5 separate regions of the Homo sapiens genome follow, and all the other regions are linked to region 1. The links are contacts of gene promoters, found by promoter capture Hi-C in blood cells and fetal thymus (Javierre and others, 2016). All regions are on one chromosome and are shown on one strand. Each heading gives the region's core, a stretch centred on a gene start or on the middle of the fragment in contact. The rest is flanking DNA. Distances are from core to core; before and after follow the strand shown.

Region 1 (3,840 bases), core at 1-2,500:
TGTTGTTTTTGTTTTTTTGTTTTGTTTTTGTTTTTGAGACAAATTGAGGCTCTGTCACCTAGGATGGAGTGCAATGGAGCAATCTTGGTTCACTGCAACCTTCGCTTCTCAGGCTCAAGCCTTCCTCCCACTTCAGCCTCCCAAGTAGCTGGGACCACAGGTGCATGCATGCCACCACATCTGGCAAATTTTTGTATTTTTCATAGAGACAGGGTTTCCTCATGTTGGCCTGGCTGGTCTCAAACTCCTGAGCTCAGTGATTTCCCACCTCAGCCTCCTAAAATGTTAGGATTACAGATGTGAGCCACTGCATCCAGCCAAAATTTTAAAATTTAAAAAAATAATTTAAAATCTCCTGTCTCCATTAGGATGTCTCTCACACTACACCCTCCTTTTTTTTTTTTTAAATTTTTGAGATGGTGTCAAAAAATGACAGCCTCTGTCATTCAGGCTGGAGTGCAGTGGCGCCACCATAGGTCACTGCAGCCTCAAATTCCTGGGCTCCAGCGATCCTCCCACCTCACCTCCCTGGTGCCTTTTATTTTATTTTATTTTATTTTATTTTTGACCCTAAGTCTTGCTCTTGTCGCCCAGTCTGGAGTGCAATGGTGCGATCTTGGCTCACTGCAACTCCGCCTCCCAGATTCAAGCGATTCTCCTGCCTCAGCCTCCCAAGTAGCTGAGTAGTTGGGATTACAGGTGCCTGCGACCACGCCTGGCTAATTTTTGTATTTTTAGTAGAGACTGGGTTTCACCATGTTGGCCAGGCTGGTCTCGAATTCCTGGCCTCAAGTGATCCTCCCGCCTCAGTCTCCCAAAGTGCTGGGATTATAGGCGTGAGCCACCGCGCCCAGCCCCTGGTGCCTTCTTTAACACTGGGTGGGAAGAGAGTGTCCTGGCGAGGCCTCTGCACACCGACTGCATTTCCCAGATCCAAACTAATAACCTCCCTTGCCCCAGGCGCCTTCCAGGGCTGACATGCCTCCTCTCGCAAGTGGGGGAAACAGATGTCCCCGGGGGCTGGGGATAGGGGCGGGGGTGTGGGGAGGTGAGGGGCGAGGGGAAGGGGGGGAGGGGGGCGAAGGGGGCGGGGAGGAGGGGGAGCCGGCCGGGAGACGGCCCGGCCCAGCCGCCCGGGCTGTTGCCTCCGCTGCGGGCGTTCCTCCAGGCCTGCGGAGGGCGCTGCGGGCGCGGGGCTGGGCCGCTCTGGCTGGCGGGCGAGCAGAGAGGCGCCTCGGTGGCGGTGCGCTGTCCAGCATTTCAGCAAGCGGCGGCAGCACCCGCGGGGAGGCAGAGGGTGCGGGGCCGTGGGGGCCGCGGAGCTGCCCTGCCCAACTCAGCCCAGACTAGGCGGCAGCCCGGACCGGCGGGACCCGAGGGCCTGGCCCCAGCGCCCGGTAGATCGCGGCGGTCAGCGGTGAGGTGAGAGCGCCTGTGGGGCGGGGGCATATCCCCGAGGGGCTGGGGCTGGGTGGAAGCTCGGGCCTCCCCAGCACCCCCGTGGTCTGCAGGCTCCCCCGAGCAGAGGGGCAGTGTGGGAGGTCGGCGAGGGCGTCTGTCCGGGGGTGCCAGGCGCCCGGGGAGCAGAGATGAGGAACATTCATTTCACTGAGAGGGATGGAGACAGTGGAGACCTTTGGGGTCATGGGCAGGACTCCCCTGGGCATAAATGACCATGGCCTAGTCCATGAGGGTGCCAGGGAGGCCCCCCAACCGCAGTCCCACTGAGGAGAAGGACCTGCTCCCCAGGGAAGGGAGGACCGATGCAGTAACCCTGTGGAGATGCTGGTCACTGGCCCTGGTGAAGGGAGCAGGCCCCCACCTGGATGCTGGGCCTCTGTCCAGCAGGAGGTGCCGGCCCAGGGGACAGCCTGGCCCCTTTCCCGGCTACCCAAATGCCCCTAGGGAGGCAGGAGCTGGCAAGGAGAACTGGGTCTCACAGGATGGCATTTACTCTTGCACTGGGAAGAGGATGGAGGACACAGAAGAGAAAATAGCTACTAGGAATTTGGGAGGGGGTTCTCTGTGCACACCCCCCACCCCAACCACGGACGCCCAGAGAGAGTTTCTAGCCCAGAGTTAGACCTGCGCCAGAGTGAATTCCTGGTAAAGAAGAGAGCTGAGAAAAGACGCAGCCTCTGCCTTGCCTCCGCCTCCCCCTCCCTCCCAGGGCTCCTGCCTGGACAGTGTTGAAGCCTCCTGCAGTTCCTACTCCTGACAGCAGATCCATTGTGGGGAGAGATTTAGTGGGAGGAAGGGAAGGTTGTACCAAGGTCTGACGTGGTACTTCAATGCCTGTGCCCTATCCCAGCCATAACTTCTCGCTGTCCTAAGACCTCACTCACCCTAGCATCGGGGGCTTGAGCTGGTCTTTTGTCCCATGGCAAGAGAAAAGGCAGGTGCTGGGCTTTGACGGAGAGACGTGCACAAGTTCCTCTGTCCAGGGAGCATCTTAAGGTCATGGCCCCAGTTTGTGCCAGCTTCTTCCTCAGTCAAAAATAGGACCCAGCTGGCTAGGAAATTGTTCCCACACAGCAGTAGCTTTCTGGTTCCTTAACTTTATGCCCCATCCCACTCTCCTGTGGGGTGGAGGAGGTATTCTTGAAGACTGACTAAAGAGTCAACTGGGTTTTAAGAGGTAGGGGTATGTGGGTTGGGAGTCATGGACTCTGATGTCAGAAAGACATGGGATCAAATCTAGGTTATGTGACCTCAGGTAAGCCATTGACCTTTCTGAGTCTGTTTTCAATCTGTAAAACAGGTGTAGTGTTAGCAATGTCTACTTTGCTGTTGAAAGAAATAATCTGGATAAGGAGATGGGAGACTACTTTTACGGTATAAAATGCTGGGTGAGTGTTAGTAAATAGGAGACAAGTAAGAATTTCTTAAAGAAGAGCTGGATAAATGTGGAATAGTGTTCAGTGATATTTGAAGCACATTTTTCTGTTCCCAGAGGAGATGAACAGTGGTTGAGAGCCTCATGCCCAGCTCCATGCTGGGCACAATGCAACGGTTGACTCAGCTAATCCTCACAGAAGCTTCATGAGGAAGGCATCATTGTCCCTATTTCATAGCTGAGAAATGAAGCTTGAGTGACTTTCCCAAGGTCATGAAGCCACTCGCGCTGTCCTCCTGGAGGCAGGAGAGTTACTGATGACCTGTCCCATCCTCTGAGTATCAAGGCCCAGTTCAATGCCAGTGTCTTGATTTATGATGCCAGCTTTACAGGTGGGGAGCCTGAGGCAGGTGGGTGAGGGCATACAGTGCAGTAAGGAGGTGACTCCCACAAGGTCACTGGGATACTTAGAGGTAGAATGTGCCTTGAACCGGCCAGCGGGGTGCCTCTACCCCGTCACACCTGCCAAAGGGGGGGTCTGGGTCTGACAGTCCCATCTGCTCACTGCTGCACCCGTTCTGCACCTCCTCTGCCTCCCAACCTCTTGCTGACCTCTGCCAGCCAGTGACTGCTCCTTCCTTTCTTAGTGGTTCACCCTCACCTCCTGAGATGGTCCATGGCCAGGAGCAGCTACTAGCGCTGCTGGGGTCAGCCTCCCTTCCTGACTTTTCTCCCTCCTCTGCCCATATTTTATTGTCCCCCAGGGACAAAATCATAGCTCTTCCTGTCTCAGAAGCCTTCCAGGGGCACCAATGGGGAGGTTAGAGAAGCCCAGCCCCTCTTTCTTCACTCCTACACATACACTGAGCCTCTGCCCATGGTCCTGTAACTTCGTATACATGATCTCATCTCATCCTCACATAACCTGGACCCAAAGGTGCTGCTGTCTCCCTTTCACATAGGAGAAAAACAAGGCCTGAAGGTGTGATGGGACTTTCCCAAAG
Region 2 (4,195 bases), core at 1,166-3,665, 66 kb after region 1:
TCCTGCCTCAGCCTCCCAAGTAGCTGGGACTACAGGCGCCCGCCACTACGCCCGGCTAATTTTTTGTATTTTTAGTAGAGACGGGGTTTCACCGTTTTAGCCGGGATGGTCTCGATCTCCTGACCTCGTGATCCGCCCGCCTCGGCCTCCCAAAGTGCTGGGATTACAGGCGTGAGCCACCGCGCCCGGCCTTATTTATATATTTAATATATATAAATATTTATATATTTAATATATATAAATATTTATATATTTAATATATATAAATATTTATATATTTAATATATTTATATTTAATTATATTATATATTTATATATTTAATATAAATATTAACATATTTTAATATAAATATTAATATATATTTCAATATAAATATTAATGTATATTTTCATATAAATAATATATTTAATATATTTATATATTTTAATTTATATATATTTATATATCTATATATAAATATAGATATATATTTTAATATTTATATATATTATAAATATTTATATATTTTATATATTTATATATTTAATATATAAATATTTATATATTATATATTTAATATATAAATATTTATATATTAAATATATAATATATAAACATTTATATATTATATATTTTATATATTTATATTTAATTATGTTATATATTAATATATATTTAATATATTTATATATTATATATATTATTATATATATTTATATATATAATATATATTTTGAGACGAGTATTGCTGTGTTGCCCAGGCTGGAGAGCAGTGGTGCAATCTTGGCTCACTACAACCTCCGCCTCCGGGATTCAAGCAATTCTCCAGCCTCAGCCACCCGAGTAGCTGAGATTACAGGCGTGCACCACCATGCCCGACTAATTTTTGTATTTTTAGCGGAGATGGGATTTCGCCATTTCGAACAGCCTGGTCTCGAATTCCTGACCTCAAGCGATCCGCCTGTCTCGGCCTCCCAAAGTGCTGGGATTACAGGCGTGAGCCACCAAGCCCAGCCTAATAATAATTTTTAAAAAGAGAAATTTACCAGGGGAGTGATAACTTGAGGAAGAGCTGCCCTAAGGCCCCTAAGCCTCCGCCTGAATTGGAAATCGAGGCACAGCCTCGCTGGCTCACCCTGGTCAAGCCCTCTCTAAGTGGAAAGGTTCCCAGCATGGTGAAAAGGCAGGTGGAGGGCTGCTCTCTTTCCCCGTGCTGGGGAAGGGGGAAAGAGGAGGCGCAACTGCTTGCAAAGCGGGTGTCCCACGCCGACTCCCCCATTCTTCCTGGCGCCTAACCCCAGGCTGAGCCCCAAGCACCGAGACGAAGGGCGAAAGACGGGCAGCCAGCGGTCCAGCGGAAGCCGGTCGCCTTCCCCGTCGGGCGGCAGCGGATGGGGGTCGCCCCAGCGGAACGGCGGCAGCGGGCAGCGGAGCGGAGCGCACGGGGGCCGCCCCGGCTCGGCGCACAGCCCGCCCGATGTACGTACGCTTCGCTTTGCGGAGGGTTCCCGCGCCGCGGGCTGCGCCGTGCGTGGTCGGGCGGGTCGCCAGCGGGGCAGGGGGCGATAAGTGTGGCATGGGGGCGGGGGCGGGGGCGGCCGCTTCCTCCCTCCTCGGCTCCCCGCTGGGCGTCCTGGCTCGGGAGCCGCCGGGAGTGCTAGGCCGTTGCGCCCACCTGGCCCTGGTGTCAGGGTGAGGGGCGCCTGCGGTCTTGGGCCACCCTTGCGCTTGGCAAACTGAAGGCCAGAGGGGGGTTGACCGCGGGGCACTGAGTTGGGTACAGGGCTGGGGAGGAATCAGGGTCTCGTGCCCTCCCCAGGCATATTAGGGTGGGAGGGGCATGGACATTGATAGGAGTCCCAGGCAGGAGCAGGATTCGAGAGACAGGACCCCCCACTGGGCACCACCTGGGCCCTGAGTCTCCCTCTTCCCACCAAGCCCTGGCCCCACCTCTGAGCACCCCCCTCCCCCTCCCTCAATCTTCTCCCCAGCCCCTCCCTCCCTCAGCCCCCTCCCCCATCTCAGTCCCTCTGCCCTCTAAAGTCCCTGCTCTGAGGAGACTCTGCCCTTTTCCAGGCACCGCCCACACTTGGACTGGTGTCTCAAACCTGCCGGCTCCTCTTCCCACGGCCACCCTCCTGAGGCACCTGCCAGCGTGCCTCAGAGACCCCACACCAACACCCCCAAAACTGTCCCCACCCTTCCTCCAAGAGGGGCACAGATGCCCGAAGACCTACAGGCAGGTGCAATGGGGGAGCTGGCAGAGGAGAGAGACGTCTCAGCCTGTCCCCAGATGGATGGGCTGGGCCTGGGTTGGGGCTTCTCCCAGACCCCAGGGAAGGTCCACATCCCCTTCTGGTCTGTTGATTATAGAGTACACAGTTGAGACCCCTCAGAGAGAGGGGGCTGCAGTGCTGGCAGGGGCACTGGGGTGGGTGGGGGGGTGGCTTGGGGTGGGGAGACCTGCAGGTTCCTTCCCAGACCCGCAGACTGCCCCCCACCCAACCCCAAAGCCTCAGCTGGGAGTGGGAGAGCTGCCCCTCCCCAGACCTCAGGTCTCAGCAGCAAACATGTACGTGTTGGTCAGTTTCATTTTGATTTTTGGCTGTTTCCTTTCACTCCCTTTCTTTTCTCAAACACCCTTTACTCCCACGGCCTCAGAGAGGAAAGTCAAGGGCAGCTGACTGAAGGCTCTTGGTCTCAAGGTTAAGTTTTATTGAAGGACATTTACCTGTCTCTAGACTGTCCCACCTGGACCAGGCACCAGGCTCCTGGGCTCTGGGGGTTTTGGTTGGGCCGCGCAGGGAGGATGACACTGATGTCCCCGGATCTGTCTTGGGAGGGGGTTGAGGGCAGGCAGAGGTAGCTGAGGGTAGCATGGCAGAGGCTGGAGAGGATTAACAACCCACAAGAGGGGCACCCACCATCCCCCACCCCTGTGGGCATGGAGTCCCAAGAGCACAGGACCCGAAACACCTTCTTGCCAGCTTCTCATCCACCCTTCTGGGGCCTCCCAAGAGACACAGAGATGCGGGTTCTCTGAAGTCAGGGCTGGAAGTGGGTCCCTTCGTACCTCTGGTCCTCTCTCCAGCCCTGGAGTCCTGAGCAATGATCCCACCTCCACCCCCTCCCCAATGCAGACAAAATGGCCACAGCATCTAGGCATCCCCAGGATAGGGCAGTCGGGGAAGGGGACCCAGCCACCAGCCTTGGGGCGGGAGCTTCTGAAGCACCCACATCTTGTCTCCCTCCCAGCATGGGACTCTAGTTTGGCACAGCCCTGGGAGTTTTCTTGGAGACGGCATTTTGTGACTCCTTTCACCAAGCATGGTCCCCAAATCCTATCCCTCACCCTTGGGGCCCTGGGAGATCTGGGACTTCAGAGCATCCCGGGTCTCAAACCTGCATTCAGATCCCTGCCTCTCTGCCTTAAAAAGACCCCTGAGGAGTCAAAAGAGGCTAGTTCTTGCTCATATGCAGAAAAGTGAGATGGGGGATGGGAGAGGGGTCCCAGACTTTACCATGAACGAAACCGTCTTCGGGAAAAAATACTGGGGGTGGTATTCTTGGACGATACCTTTAAAAAAAAAAAGAAAAGAAAAAAAGAGAGAGAGAAACAAATGGAAAAAAAGGAAAGCTCAACATTTTTTAACCCCGTCTATGTTTTTGTTTGTTTTTTAGCCTCCCATTTGAAACGTGGTAATACTGTGATTCCATTTCTTGTTTAGCTGGTGAGGGAAGAGGGTGGGCAAGTTTATGTAACTTTTTCTGTTGTTTTGTTTTTATTTCCTTTTCCTTTCTTTTTTTTTTTCCCTATTTTAATGTACAGAAATGCAAACTATCTCTCTGGGTTTTTTTTTTCTATCTTCTATGTTCTAGAATTTTCTTTTTGTGTGTGTTACTGTGGGAACCTTTCCTCTTAATGCAGAGATGGCTTTTGAATTTTAAGTGAACATTAATCATATACACATCTCTATATACTTTTTTTTCCTTTGTAATCTGAATTTAAAAGGGAAGATAACTCTAAAAAAAAAAATCACTCCCACACCAACAGCTCCTGCCAAGTCAGCAGCGGCAGCAAATCCTCCTTTCAACTCCAGGCACAGGCTGGAGCTGCCGCAGATTTTAAATTAACTATAGTGGTGCAGCCTGTGCTGCTGCGTTCCCCAGGAAGCTGGAGAGAAGCGGGAGACCCAGGGAGGGGAAGAGACTTGT
Region 3 (3,947 bases), core at 433-2,932, 84 kb after region 1:
AGGAACAAAGAGCCATTTTGAACCCAGGGATCTTCCTGCGTCCCCCCTTCCTTCTGATGCCAACTCACCAGGCTGGGGACGCCCCCAGACAGGTCACACACCCTGCCCGTAGGCCAGGCCCTCACACCTTCCACCTGGCACCCACTCAGCCCCTCTCCCAGGCTGCCTCCTCCTCCACTAACGTACACCTGTTTTCTTCCTCAGAATTAACCCTGCGACGGGGCAGTGTTGCCCCTTAACCTCTCTTTTCTCTTCTCTGGGTCATAGCCTCCTGGCTTCCAACTAACTCTGGGCCAGCGGGAGGTAGCTGAGTGAGGAGTGGGGCCGGCGGGACTGGACCGGACCGTGGGCATGGGGAGCAGCGGCCAGGACTCCCCTCCTTGTTCCTTTCGAGTGACCTGAAAGCAACAAATTCCTTGATTGCAGAGGGGACAGGGGAACAGAGAGGCAGGGCTGGGACGTAGTCACAGACACTTACACGCCAGCTTGGGTGATGGGAGCTGTCCACATTTGCAAGTTTCATTCATTCAACAAGTTTTTTTTTTTGAGACGGAGTCTCACTCTGTCACCCAGGCTGGAGTGCAGTGGCGCAATCTCCACTCACTGCAGCCTCCGCCTCTGGGGTTCAAGCGATCCTCCCACCTCAGCCTCCCAAGTAGCTGGGATTACAGGTGCACACCACCATGCCCGGCAAATGTTTGTATTTTTAGTAGAGACAGGGTTTCATTATGTTGGCCAGACTGGTCTCAAACTTCTGACCTCAAGTGATCCGCCCGCCTCAGCCTCCCAAAGTGCTGGGATTACAGGCGTGAGCCACCGCGCCCAGCCTCAACAAGTATTTATTAGCAGGTGTTCGGATCGGGCAGAGACATGGTCTCCTTTCCCTGCAGATAGGTGAAGAAAAGCAAAATGATCAACATGGAATTTGCAAGTAACCAATGACCGTCAGATTCCATTTGGAGAAGGCAGGTGTCTCTAAGGCCAGGGCTCAGGGGAAACTGAGGCAGGAAGCCCTGGCCGCTGCTGGGATGGGGCTCGGGGCCTGGGATGGCCTGTAATCAGCTTTTTCTTCCCGGCAGCGCCCGCAAGCGTCCTATTCCATACTACCGGCCCAGCCCCTCTTCCTCCTCCAGCTGCTTGAGCAGCGACTACTCGACCCGGAGCCACAGCCGCAGCCCCAGCCCCGGCCACAGCCACGGGAGCTACAGCAGTCGCAGCCATGGGACCCGCAGCCGGACACGCAGCCCCTCGAGGACCCCCAGTCCCAGCTACCACAGCCGGAGCAGCTCTGAGAGCGGGGGCTTCTGAGCCCAGACAGACTCAGCTTGGTGCCCCCCTGGCACTGGGAGAGGCGAGGGGCGGGCCCCAGGACCCCAGTGGGGAGGGGGCTATATCTCCTTGCCCCCAAGGCTACAAAGAGGTCTCAGGGCCAGTGCACGGGCAGATGGGACCGGGGAAGACTTTGAGGGTGGGCATCCAGTGGACAAGGAGAAGCCAGATGTGCTGCTTCTACGGGTGTCCTCTCCCACCTCCTGTCCACCCACTGTGCCCGGGGAACAAAGAGCCGTTACGAACACAGGAATCTCCCCATCCCCCTTCCTGCTGATGCCAACTCACCAGGCTTGGGACTGCTGCCGGTGGATGGTACCAGAGTCCATGATCTGCTCTGTCACTTCACCTTAGCTCAGTGCAGCCAGGGACACCTTGCAAGGTGCCAGCCCTGGGAGCCCCTCTTCCGCACTACACAGCTCCCTCCACTCCTCTCTTATCACTGGGCAGACGAGGAGGTGGTACAGCACATGGGTTTGGAGCTAGACAGAAGGAAGAACAGCCTAACCCTTGGTGCACCCCCATCCAAGCTGGGGAGCTGCATCCTTTTGAGCTGGCTGCAGGAGGACCCTGGCTGAGGGCTGGTGGCTGGCCCCACAGCCTCCCCCAAGCTCCTCCACTGACCCAGGAGTGCCCAGACGGGTGGCCCCCAAAATCCCAGCCTGGGGAGCTAGGCACCTCACTCTTGGTCTGACCTCTCCAGGCCAGGCTCTCCTCACCCCATGCCCTGGGCCAAGGTCCTACCAGCCATGACTACTGCATGACAAGAGGTGGGGGGTACAGACCTCAGGTACATTTGACCCTGAGGTTAAAAGGGGTTCAGGTCAAGAGGTGGGAGAGGAAAGGGGTAGATGGGAGGTGGAATCTGTAGGAAAGAGAAAAAGCAAAGTCGTTCACTGACTGAGTAGCCCCCAGGGAGTGGAGACGGGTCCCTGGGGAGGGAGCAGCTGACAGGTCAGCAGTGCCCCCAGCCCCACCCAAGAGGAGGGCAGCGTGTGCCTGTGGTCTGGGACGTGGGCTGGATGGCAGCCCAGGGTCACAGGCATAGGATAACATGTGCTTTGGACCTGACAAGGGAGTACCTTGGGGGTCTGATGGGGTCATGGCCAGCCGAGCCTCTGTAGAGATGGAGGCTACAGCCCTCAGAAGGGAGGGGAGGAAAGAGACTGAGGGCCCTGGCCTGGGGCGTCGATGGGGAAGCGGTGGCCCCCAGTCCTCTTCTGCTGCTCCCAGCCCCCTCCTCCTGGGGCCCTCAGGGATCTCATGAAGTCTTCCTTGGCCCAACCAGGCAGATGCCCCGGGCTCCAGTGGGGGGAGGGGTCTGGGGTCTGGTCCGGGTTCCCCGCTTTCTCTATGTCCCCCCTCCCTCTTTCTCCGCAGTGCGGATAAAAATTGGACTCGAATAAAACCCTTGGTGCCCGGATGGTAGGTGGTGAGACCAGGCCTCTGTGCATGTTGGCACCCCGGGAGATTCAGGAGGGCAGCGGGGCTGGGGTCTTCCTCTGAGGGAGGCGAAAGGCTCAGACTGCTCCTTGGGACCCCAGAGAGAAGAGCTGGCATCCAGGAGCCAGTGTGTCTATCCCCCTGCCTCTGAGCTTGAGGCTAAAACAGGGACCCAAAGAGACCTTCCTCCCAGCCTGGAGGCCGGGTGGACTTTGAACATCCCACGGGGTGGGCTGCCTGAGCCCACACACCCAGGCTACCTTCAGCAGTGGGTAGGGATGGGGTAGAGGGAGGAGACACAGGGTGGACATAGGCACAGGGGACACTCACAACATGGTGGGGTGTCACAGAGTGGTTGGGACACAGCCTGAGGCAGCATGCAGGCATGCATCCTGGCTCCTGTGCCTCCCAGCCATGTGACACACAGCTGAGATGAGGTGGGCAGGAAATATTCTGACAGTCCTCAGCTCAGTGACTGTGACTGCCATAGAGTGAGCATTTAAAAGGTGGCCACAGCCGGGCGCGGTGGCTCGCGCCTGTAATCCCAGCACTTTGGGAGGCTGAGGCGGACGGATCACCTGAGGTCAGGAGTTCGAGACCAGCCTGACCAACATGGTGAAACCCCGTCTCTACTGAAAATACAAAAATTAGCCGAGTGTGGTGGTGGGCACCTATAATCCCAGGTACTCAGGAGGCTGAGGCAGGAGAATCGCTTGAACCCGGGAGGCAAAGGTTGCAGTGAGCCGAGATCGAGCCACTGTACTCCTGCCTGGGCAACAGAGTGAGACTCTGTCTCAAAAAAGAAAGAAAAGAAAGAAGAGGAAGGAAAGAAAAAGGAAAGGAAGGAAGGAAAGAAAAGAAAAGAGGCCAGGCGCGGTGGCTCACCCCTGTAATCCCAGCACTTTGGGAGGCCGAGGCAGGCGGATCACGAGGTCAGGAGATCAAGACCGTCCTGGCTAACATGGTGAAAACCCATCTCTACTAAAAATACAAAAAATTAGCTGGGCATAATGGCAGGCACCTGTAGTCCCAGCTACTAGGGAGGCTGAGGCAGGAGAACGGCGTGAACCCGGGAGGCGGAGCTTGCAGTGAGCTGAGATTGCACCACTGCACTCCAGCCTGGGCAACAGAGCGAGACTCCGTCTCAAAAAAAAAAACAAAAAAACAAAAAAACA
Region 4 (4,206 bases), core at 89-2,588, 110 kb after region 1:
TGCCAACCGCCAGTTGGTGCTGGGAGAGTTGGCAGTGTGACAAATGCCGGGAATCCCTGGCTTGGCTGAGAAGGGACGGCTCTGGATCAATAACAGACTCGTGGGATGGCCTCGGGCAGGAGCACGAGGGTGGCAGAGCCTCCCTGGCTGGCCTGCAAACAAAAAGCAAGTGTCCAGCCAGGGCTCTCGACTCAGCCCAGGGAGAAAAGAGCACAGCTGGGGACCCTGGGAAAAACAGACTCCCTCTGGGCGGGGTTCCTATAGCATAACAGCCCCTCCCACCCTTCTTCTCAGCTGGGTACAGCAGCTGCCCTGCCTAAGATGACAGTGATGGTATCAGCAGCTGACTCTGGTAGAAGGAAGTCTTCCCCCTCCCTGCCCACCGCCCCAGGACTGAACAAGGGGGCAGAGCCTGCCAGGAGGGATTGGGGTTAAAGAATGAATCAAGGCCAGGCGCAGTGGCTCATGCCTGTAATCCCAGCACTTTGAGAGGTTGAATCGGGAAGATCGCTTGAGCCCAGGAGTTCAAGACCAACCTAAGCAACATAGTGAGTCCCCATCTTTACCAAAAACGTTTTTAAAAATTAGCTGGGGCTGGACACAGTGACTCACACCTGTAATCCCAGCACTTTGGGAGGCTGAGGCAGGTGGTTCATCTGAGGTCAGGAGTTCAAGACCAGCCCTAACCAACATGGCGAAACCCTATCTCTACTAAAAATACAAAAATTAGCTAGATGTGGTGGTGCTTGCCTGTAATCCCAGCTACTCAGGAGGCTGAGGCAGGAAAATCGCTTGAACCTGGGAAGCAGAGGTTGCAGTGAGCCAAGATTGTGTCATTGCACTCCACCTGGGCAACAAGTGTGAAACTCCATCTCAAAGAAAAAAAAAAATTCTGAGCATGGTGGCATATGTTTATAGTCCCAGCTACTCAGGAGGCTGAGGCAGGAGGATGGCTCGAGTCCAGGAGGTTGAGGCTGCAGTGAGCTATGATCATACCACTGCATTCCAGCCTGGGCAACATAGTGAGACTCTGGCTCTACTAAAAATAAGAAATTATCTGGGCACGGTGGTGCCTGCAGTCTGATCTACTTGGGAGGCTAAGGCGGGAGAATCTCTTAAGCCCAGGAGTTCGAAGCTACAGTGAGCTATGGACATGCCACTGCACTCCAGCCTGGGTGACAGAGCAAGACCTTGTCTCTAAAAAAAATAAAGAATTGATTGAGGCGGCAGGAGTAGCTCCATGTTTAGGAAAAAGCCAGCCGGGCGAGGTGGCTCACACCTGTAATCCCAGCACTGTGGGAGGCCGAGGCAGGCGGATCACCTGAGGTCAGGAGTTCAAGACCAGCCTGGCCAACAGGGTGAAACCCCATCTCTACTTAAAAATACAAAAAATTAGCCAGGCATGGTGGCGGATACCTGTAATCACAGCTACCCTGGAGGCTGAGGCAGGAGAATTGCTTGAACCCAGGAGGCAGAGATTGCCATGAGCTGAGATAGCGCCATTGTACTCCAGCCTGGGCAACAGAGCAAGACTCCATCTCAAAAAAAAAAAAAAAAAAAACCAGGGAAAAAGCCCAGGGCTGGGGCCAGACCTTGGTTTGGGCCCGCTGCACCCTGGCGGAGACATGGGCTGGGGTGCAGCCTGGCCCTGGGCTCAGTTTCCATTCTGAGACTTCACTTCTGGGGGACCTCTGGTTGTCTGTTGGTGTTGTCAGTCCCATGCAGGGTGACGATCTAGGGGGAGTCATGAATAGTGGAAGCTACCCAGGTCCCCTAACAATCGTAGGAAGACCAAAGTCCCAGGGGGACTTGAGGATATGCAGATATTTCTGTGCATGACCAACAAGGGCCTGGGTGAGAAAGGCCTTCAGTCTGGCCCCTGACCCCACTAAGTAACCCCTTTTTTCCCTATGTCGTTCTGCTCTCCATATGATGGGCTCCTCAAAGTCCTCTTAGGAATGGCTGGGAGCGTCTATGTCTTCAGGCTGGTGGGACCACAGGATAAGGAGGTTGAAAACTTAATCAGGTGGATGGATGACAAAGAGGTCACTCCCGCCGGGTGCAGTGGCTCACACCTGTAATCTAGCACTTTGGGAGGCCGAGGCGGACGGATCACTTGAGCTCAGCAGTTCAAGACCACCCTGGGCAACATGGTGAAACCCAGTCTCTACCAAAATACAAAAAAAATTAGCCAGGCATGGTGGTGGGTGTCAGTAGTCCCAGCTACTCGGGAGGCTGAGGCATGAGAATCACTTGAGCCCGGGAGGTGGAGGTTGCAGTGAGCCAAGACTGAGCCACTGCACTCCAGCCTGGGTGACAGAGCGAGACTCCATCTCAAAAAAAAAAAAAAAAAAGGTCAGCCAGCGCAGTGGCTCACACCTGTAATCCCAGCACTTTGGGAGGCTGAGGCAGGCAGATCACGAGGTCAGGAGTTCAAGACCAGCCATGACCAACATGGAGAAACCCCATCTCTACTAAAAATACAAAATTAGCCAGGTGTGGTGGTAGGCGCCTATAGTCCCAGCTACTCAGGAGGCTGAGGCAGGAGAATGGCATGAACCCAGGAGGCAGAGGTTGTGGTGAGCTGAGATAGTGCCATTGCACTCCAGCCTGGGCAACAAGAGCAAAACTCCATCTCAAAACAAAAACAAACAAACAAACAAACAAACAAAAAAGAAATCACTCCCTTCTTTGGGTTCACCTACCCTCTCTTGGCCCTCATGCCCTCACTGGACCCCTCGTGAGTTCCCATCTGCCCCACTGATTCTGTCCCTCCCTGACTCAGCTCCACTACCTGACTGTACCCCTCCCAACACCAAGTCCCTCCTCGCACAGGAAATCCGTTCTTTCTTTCTTTTTTTTCTTTTCTTTTTTTGAGACAGAGTCTCGCTCTATTGCCCAGGCCAGAGTGCAGTGGTACCATCTTGGCTCACTGCAGCCTCCTCCCAATGGGTTCAAGTAATACTTGTGCCTCAGCCTCCAGATTAGCTGGGATTACAGGTGTGCACCACCATACCCAGCTAATTTTTGTATTTTTAGTAGAGACGGGGTTGCACCATGTTGGCTAGTCTGGTCTTGAACTCCTGACCTCAGGTGATCCGCCCGTCTTGGCCTCCTGAAGTGCTGAGATTATAGGCATGAGCCACCGTGCTTGGCTTCTTCTTTTCTTTTTGTTTTCTTTTTTAGAGACCAGGTCTCACTCTGTCTCCAGGCTGGAGTACACTAGTGAGATCATAGCTCACTGCAACCTCCAACTCCTGGGCTCAAGCAATCCTCCTGTCCAGCCTTCCGAGTAGCTGGGACAACAGGTGTGCGCCACTATACCTGGTAAGTTTCTAATTTTTTGTAGAGATGCGGGTCTCACTATGTTGCCCAGGGAGGTCTCGAACTCCTGGAATCAAGTGATCCTCCTGCCTCCACCTCCCAAAGTGTTGGGATTACAGATGTGAGCCGCCTCACCTGGCCTTTCTTGGAGTTCACCCGTCTTCCCTGAGCTCCCACCCCATGACTGCACTTCCTCACTTCCCCACTCTCCCCTCCCTTGTTTGAGGCCCCTCCCCTCTCTGAATTCCACCCCACCTGTCTCTGAACCCTGATGCCCAAACTATCCCTTTGTAATTCCTCCCGTGGCCCCAAAGACCCCTCTTCTCCAGGTCTGCCCAGCCTGAAAGCCTTGAACCCTGGGAGCAGCCCCACAGACCGATCCCCTCAGCAGGGGGTAGTGGGCTCTGGGTGGGAGAAAGATAAATCAATCCCCACCCGGGCTCAAGTCAAGATCAGGCAGGAAGCCTCAGCCCCTCCCACACGGAGGATGGAGCTGTGCGCAGGCAGGCCCGAGACTGCCCCCTAGAGGACGCCCTGGGGTTTGCGGACCCACATCGCCCCACTCCCAGGCCCAGATAGGACAGTAAGCGACTGCCCCCTGGTGCCCTCCCAGAGAGGATGAATTCCTCAGGCACCAACACTGCCCAGTCCAGAACCTTCAGGAATCTCTGCCCAGGTTCTGAGCCCTGTAGAGCGCAAACAGGGGCAATTGACTTGGTCTTGGCCAGACGCAGTGTCTCACACCTGTAATCCCAGCACTTTGGGAGGCTGAGGCGGGAGGATCGCTTGAGCCTAGGAATGTGAGACCAGCCTGGACAACATAGTGAGATCCCTTCTCTACAAAAAAAAAAAAAAAAAAAGGAAAAAGTAGCCGGACATGGC
Region 5 (3,767 bases), core at 991-3,490, 100 kb before region 1:
AAGTTCACAGAAGTACCTGCCAAATGTGCCAACTGACTACTATGAACTAATTTACTTTTGAGAAACATGCTATTTCTTATATGCTACTGACAGTGCCTGTAAAAATGGTGCACATTAACTGGCTGTTTTATTTTCTCCCCAATCTTAATATCTAATATCCACAGACTGAGATTAGGGCACCAACATATACAATGTAACTTCATACTAGAGTTAGAAGGTGACACGAAGTGTAGAAATCATAATCTTATCCATAAAGTTCCTGTCACCTTGGAATTAACCTCCCCTTTACATAGTCTCATTGTTCACCTTGTTCAGATCTTTATAGGTTCAGGCTCAGGTCTCTGCGGTCGCGCAGTGTGTCTTTTTACCAAAAGGAACACCTCATGCACTTTACAAGGAGCTCCTTCAGGAAAGGATGGCACCTCGTGTTGAGGAGAGATCTCTGATCCTCTGATCTTTTCCAAAAGGAGAAAAGTAAAGGTTTGAATGGATTTTTAGTTCTCGGCATTTTTGAACAGAAATAGTCAGGTATTAAGTTGCTCAAAGATGCCCACAAGCTTTCATAGGAGAAACATCTAATTCATAACCAAGAGTTTATGTTATTAAGTAAGCTTTCCTTTAACAGGATGAATGAATGAAGAGTTTAAATACTCTAATCCCCATTTAGTCATCTGGTATACTCTCTGTATACTCTCAGTCATCTGGTATACTCTGTCATCTGGTATACTCTCTGTGAGGTATACTCTTAAGTCATCTGGTATCCTCTCTTTGAGTATGCCAGATTATTAAATGGAAATTACTGCACCACTAAACACCAGTACTGCAAACCCTTATTTAAAAAATCGACACCTAGGACATAAAAAAAAATGATCCTAGGCTGGGCGTGGCGGCTCACGCCTGTAATCCTAGCACTTTGGGAGGCCAAGGTAGGCAGACTGCCTAAGCTCAGGAGTTTGAGACCAGCTTGGGCAACATGGTGAAACCCCATCTCTACTAAAATACAAAAAATTAGCCAGATGTGGTGGTGTGCACCTGGAGTCCCAGCTACTCGGAAGGCTGAGGCAGGAGAACTGCTTGAACCTGGGATGCTGAGGCTGCAGTGAGCAGAGATCATGCCACTGCACTCCAGCCTGGGTGCCAGAGCGAGACTTTCATCTCCAAATAAAAAAGAATGATCCTAATGCGGTTATTTCCTTTTGCATTTATGAGGAGATGGAAGAAATACCCATATTTGATGGTTGTTTGGGAACTGTCTTTGGTATTGTAGGAAGTATTTTAATACTGTGAACATGAAAAGATGAGAACCCTGCAGACCCCGTGGGCATGGAGAGAAGGAAGTACATTAGAGGATGTTGTAGGAAATACTTTCATTCCAGGCACTGCTTTTTAAACCACCCCTCAACTTTCTTTCCTTAAAAGAACAGAAAAAACAAGACAAAAGATGAAACATTCCATGTGACCCTCTGCACCCTTATTTGTTGTAATAAAGGAAAAGCATTTTAGGGATTTTCTTGAGTGCAGTTTATGATGTGATCCATGTTATTTATTTCCTGTTAATAATTTTCAAAATTTCAATTAAAGACATTCAGAAATTTAGCTTTATCACAGGCAGCTGTTCACAGGTAAAACTAGTTTGGTTACCTTCATCTGTATAAACATGTAGCTAGTGAATTGACATAACTATTAAACTGGAGAATCAACAGAAACATGCCAAGGACTGGCCCTTACCTTCCACAGTGACCTCAATTTCAGGAACCTTTTCATTACTCTCAGGGCTTCATGGTCTTTTTAGAAACTGCGAAGCTATAAAATAAAGCACAGAATTACTTTAGTATATTGTAGAAAAAAATACAGAAGGAAATGCTTTATAAGAGCGGAGTATTAAAATTCATTCAGTTTGGCTCTTTTCAAAGAAACCTGCAGAATTAAACTTGTAGTGTAATCCTCCACAGGGGACTCAACAAAGCCATGGAAACATGAATGAAGTGGGATTGCAAATGTGACACTTCCAACAAAATTTTTTTTAAAGAAAAAGAGGTCCATTAAATAAAATACCTTAAAAAGCCAAGAAATTAACTGCAAGTCCCACAAAGAGAATGGCCAATGATTCTGTGTGATTTAAGGAATGCTGATAAAGAATGTCTTAATGTAGTGAAATATAATACAAAACACAGGTAATCTCTTACCTTTAGTGTTTATTTTATTAGCAACTCCAGGAGGCAAGTAGGAAATAACCAGTTCAGGTCTAGAAAGAAAACCAAGAAATGTTACAGCAGCCAGTACAATGGTGGCCTCACAGCTAGTAAAACGGTTGTGATATGACCAGGGTTTTTTCCTAAAGGTGTTCACAGAGTCATCCTGTAATGTCACAATAATTCCTATCATTGTAGATGAAAACCCTGACTTTTCCTTCCCATGACTGGCAAGTAATTGTATGAAAAGTAAATTACTTCTTTCATGAAAAAGAAAATTAACACTAGTGTACTTTCTTCAGCCACCAAAATTCTGCAGAAACGCAGATATAATTAAAAAAAAACCTCCATCATCAGGCCGGGCACGGTGGCTCATACCTGCAGTCCCCATACTTTGGGAGGCTGAGGTGGGTGGGTCACCTGAGGTCAGGAGTTTGAGACCAGCCTGACCAACTTGGTGAAACACCGTCTCTACGAAAAATACAAAAATTAGCCGGGCATGGTGGTGCATGCCTGTAATCCCAGCTACTTGGGAGGCTGAGGCAGGAGAATCACTTGAACCTGGGAGGTGGAGGTTGCAGTGAGTCGAGATCGTGCCATTGCACTGCAGCCTGGGTAACAAGAGTGAAACTCTGTCTCAGAAAAAGGAAAAGAAACTCAATCATCAATATTTACTTGCTAATAAGATTGACCCAGGAATAACAGAGCAGATAAAACCCAGCAGATTAAACTTCATTCAAGTACTTAGGCATACTGCAAGCCACCACAGTGTGTCTGAACATCGGGGAGGCAGTGGTCACTATTCTTGCACTGATGAAGATGACTGAGTATGGGATGGGGAATGGCAGGGGCAATGGAGAGTGCCAGGACTGCAGCTCAGAGCCAGGCTTTTCCATCAAGGACTTACAGACACACCTGTCACTTCTAGCTAGAAAAACATTTTAGTAGAAATGTCATTTTATTGTTTTAATTCCAGAAATGACTACAGTGGCAAATATAACTTACTTTTTTATTGTTGTTGTTGTTGTTGTTGTTGAGGCAGAGTCTCACTCTGTCACCCAGGCTGGAGTGCAGTGTTGTGATCTCGGCTCACTGCAGCCTCTGCCTCCCAGGTTCAAGTGATTCTCCTGCTTCAGCCTCCCAAGTAGCTGGGATCACAGGTGCCCGCCACCATGCCCGGCTAATTTTTTGTATTTTTAGTGGATACGGGGTTTTGCCATGTTTGCCAGGCTGGTCTCGAACGCCGGACCTCAGGTGATCTGCCCACCTCAGCCTCATAAAGTGCTGAGATTACAGACGTGAGCCACTACGCCTGGCCTAAAACTTACTTTTTACCAACAAATTTGATTTTATTACTCCCATGGACGATCCTTTCAAGTCATGGAATTCCAAACCAGGAGGGCTTCGAAAGGGAATCCTGTCTGGCAAACCTTCTACGTACAGGAACTTGGGATTTGATTCAAACACAGGATATGGTTCTTTTACTGCCTCAGTGAGTCCAAGAACTTAAGCTGAAAGTGCAAGAGAACATAATTTGTGGAAAATAAAATCTGACACGGACATTCTTTTATTTGT

The links. The method cuts DNA at HindIII sites, captures the fragments that hold promoters and counts their contacts. A CHiCAGO score of 5 or more calls a contact.
Region 2: a contact is called between a fragment that was not itself captured here and the fragment with the promoter of SRRM3 in region 1, in 3 of 17 cell types (megakaryocytes, endothelial precursors and M1 macrophages). The highest score is 6.8, in megakaryocytes.
Region 3: a contact is called between a fragment that was not itself captured here and the fragment with the promoter of SRRM3 in region 1, in 6 of 17 cell types (endothelial precursors, M1 macrophages, M0 macrophages and 3 more). The highest score is 9.0, in endothelial precursors.
Region 4: a contact is called between a fragment that was not itself captured here and the fragment with the promoter of SRRM3 in region 1, in 3 of 17 cell types (endothelial precursors, M1 macrophages and M0 macrophages). The highest score is 7.0, in endothelial precursors.
Region 5: a fragment that was not itself captured here is called in contact with the fragment with the promoter of SRRM3 in region 1 in 2 of 17 cell types (M1 macrophages and M2 macrophages); the score reaches 6.5 in M1 macrophages.

The regions. Positions count from the first base shown.
Region 1 is chr7:76,200,646-76,204,485 of GRCh38, forward strand. It overlaps SRRM3 (serine/arginine repetitive matrix 3), which reads left to right and starts at 1,251. Exons shown (of 15, transcript NM_001110199.3): 1 at 1,251-1,422. RefSeq lists a silencer at 1,098-1,337. The HindIII fragment of the contact is 9,812 bases long and covers 1-3,036 here.
Region 2 is chr7:76,265,977-76,270,171 of GRCh38, forward strand. SRRM3 (serine/arginine repetitive matrix 3) reads left to right here. Exons shown (of 15, transcript NM_001110199.3): 11 at 1,282-1,459. Among named protein-coding and RNA genes, the nearest start is that of HSPB1, 35 kb to the right of the region's middle. RefSeq lists an enhancer at 728-1,473 and a silencer at 1,370-1,499. The HindIII fragment of the contact is 9,929 bases long and covers 1-4,195 here.
Region 3 is chr7:76,284,536-76,288,482 of GRCh38, forward strand. SRRM3 (serine/arginine repetitive matrix 3) reads left to right here. Exons shown (of 15, transcript NM_001110199.3): 15 at 1,080-2,752. The coding sequence ends at 1,308. Among named protein-coding and RNA genes, the nearest start is that of HSPB1, 16 kb to the right of the region's middle. The HindIII fragment of the contact is 6,291 bases long and covers 1-3,947 here.
Region 4 is chr7:76,310,566-76,314,771 of GRCh38, forward strand. No RefSeq gene overlaps it. Among named protein-coding and RNA genes, the nearest start is that of FPASL, 5.6 kb to the right of the region's middle. RefSeq lists an enhancer at 3,707-4,001. The HindIII fragment of the contact is 5,877 bases long and covers 1-4,206 here.
Region 5 is chr7:76,097,712-76,101,478 of GRCh38, forward strand. It overlaps the pseudogene GTF2IP7. Among named protein-coding and RNA genes, the nearest start is that of MDH2, 51 kb to the left of the region's middle. The HindIII fragment of the contact is 3,262 bases long and covers 610-3,767 here.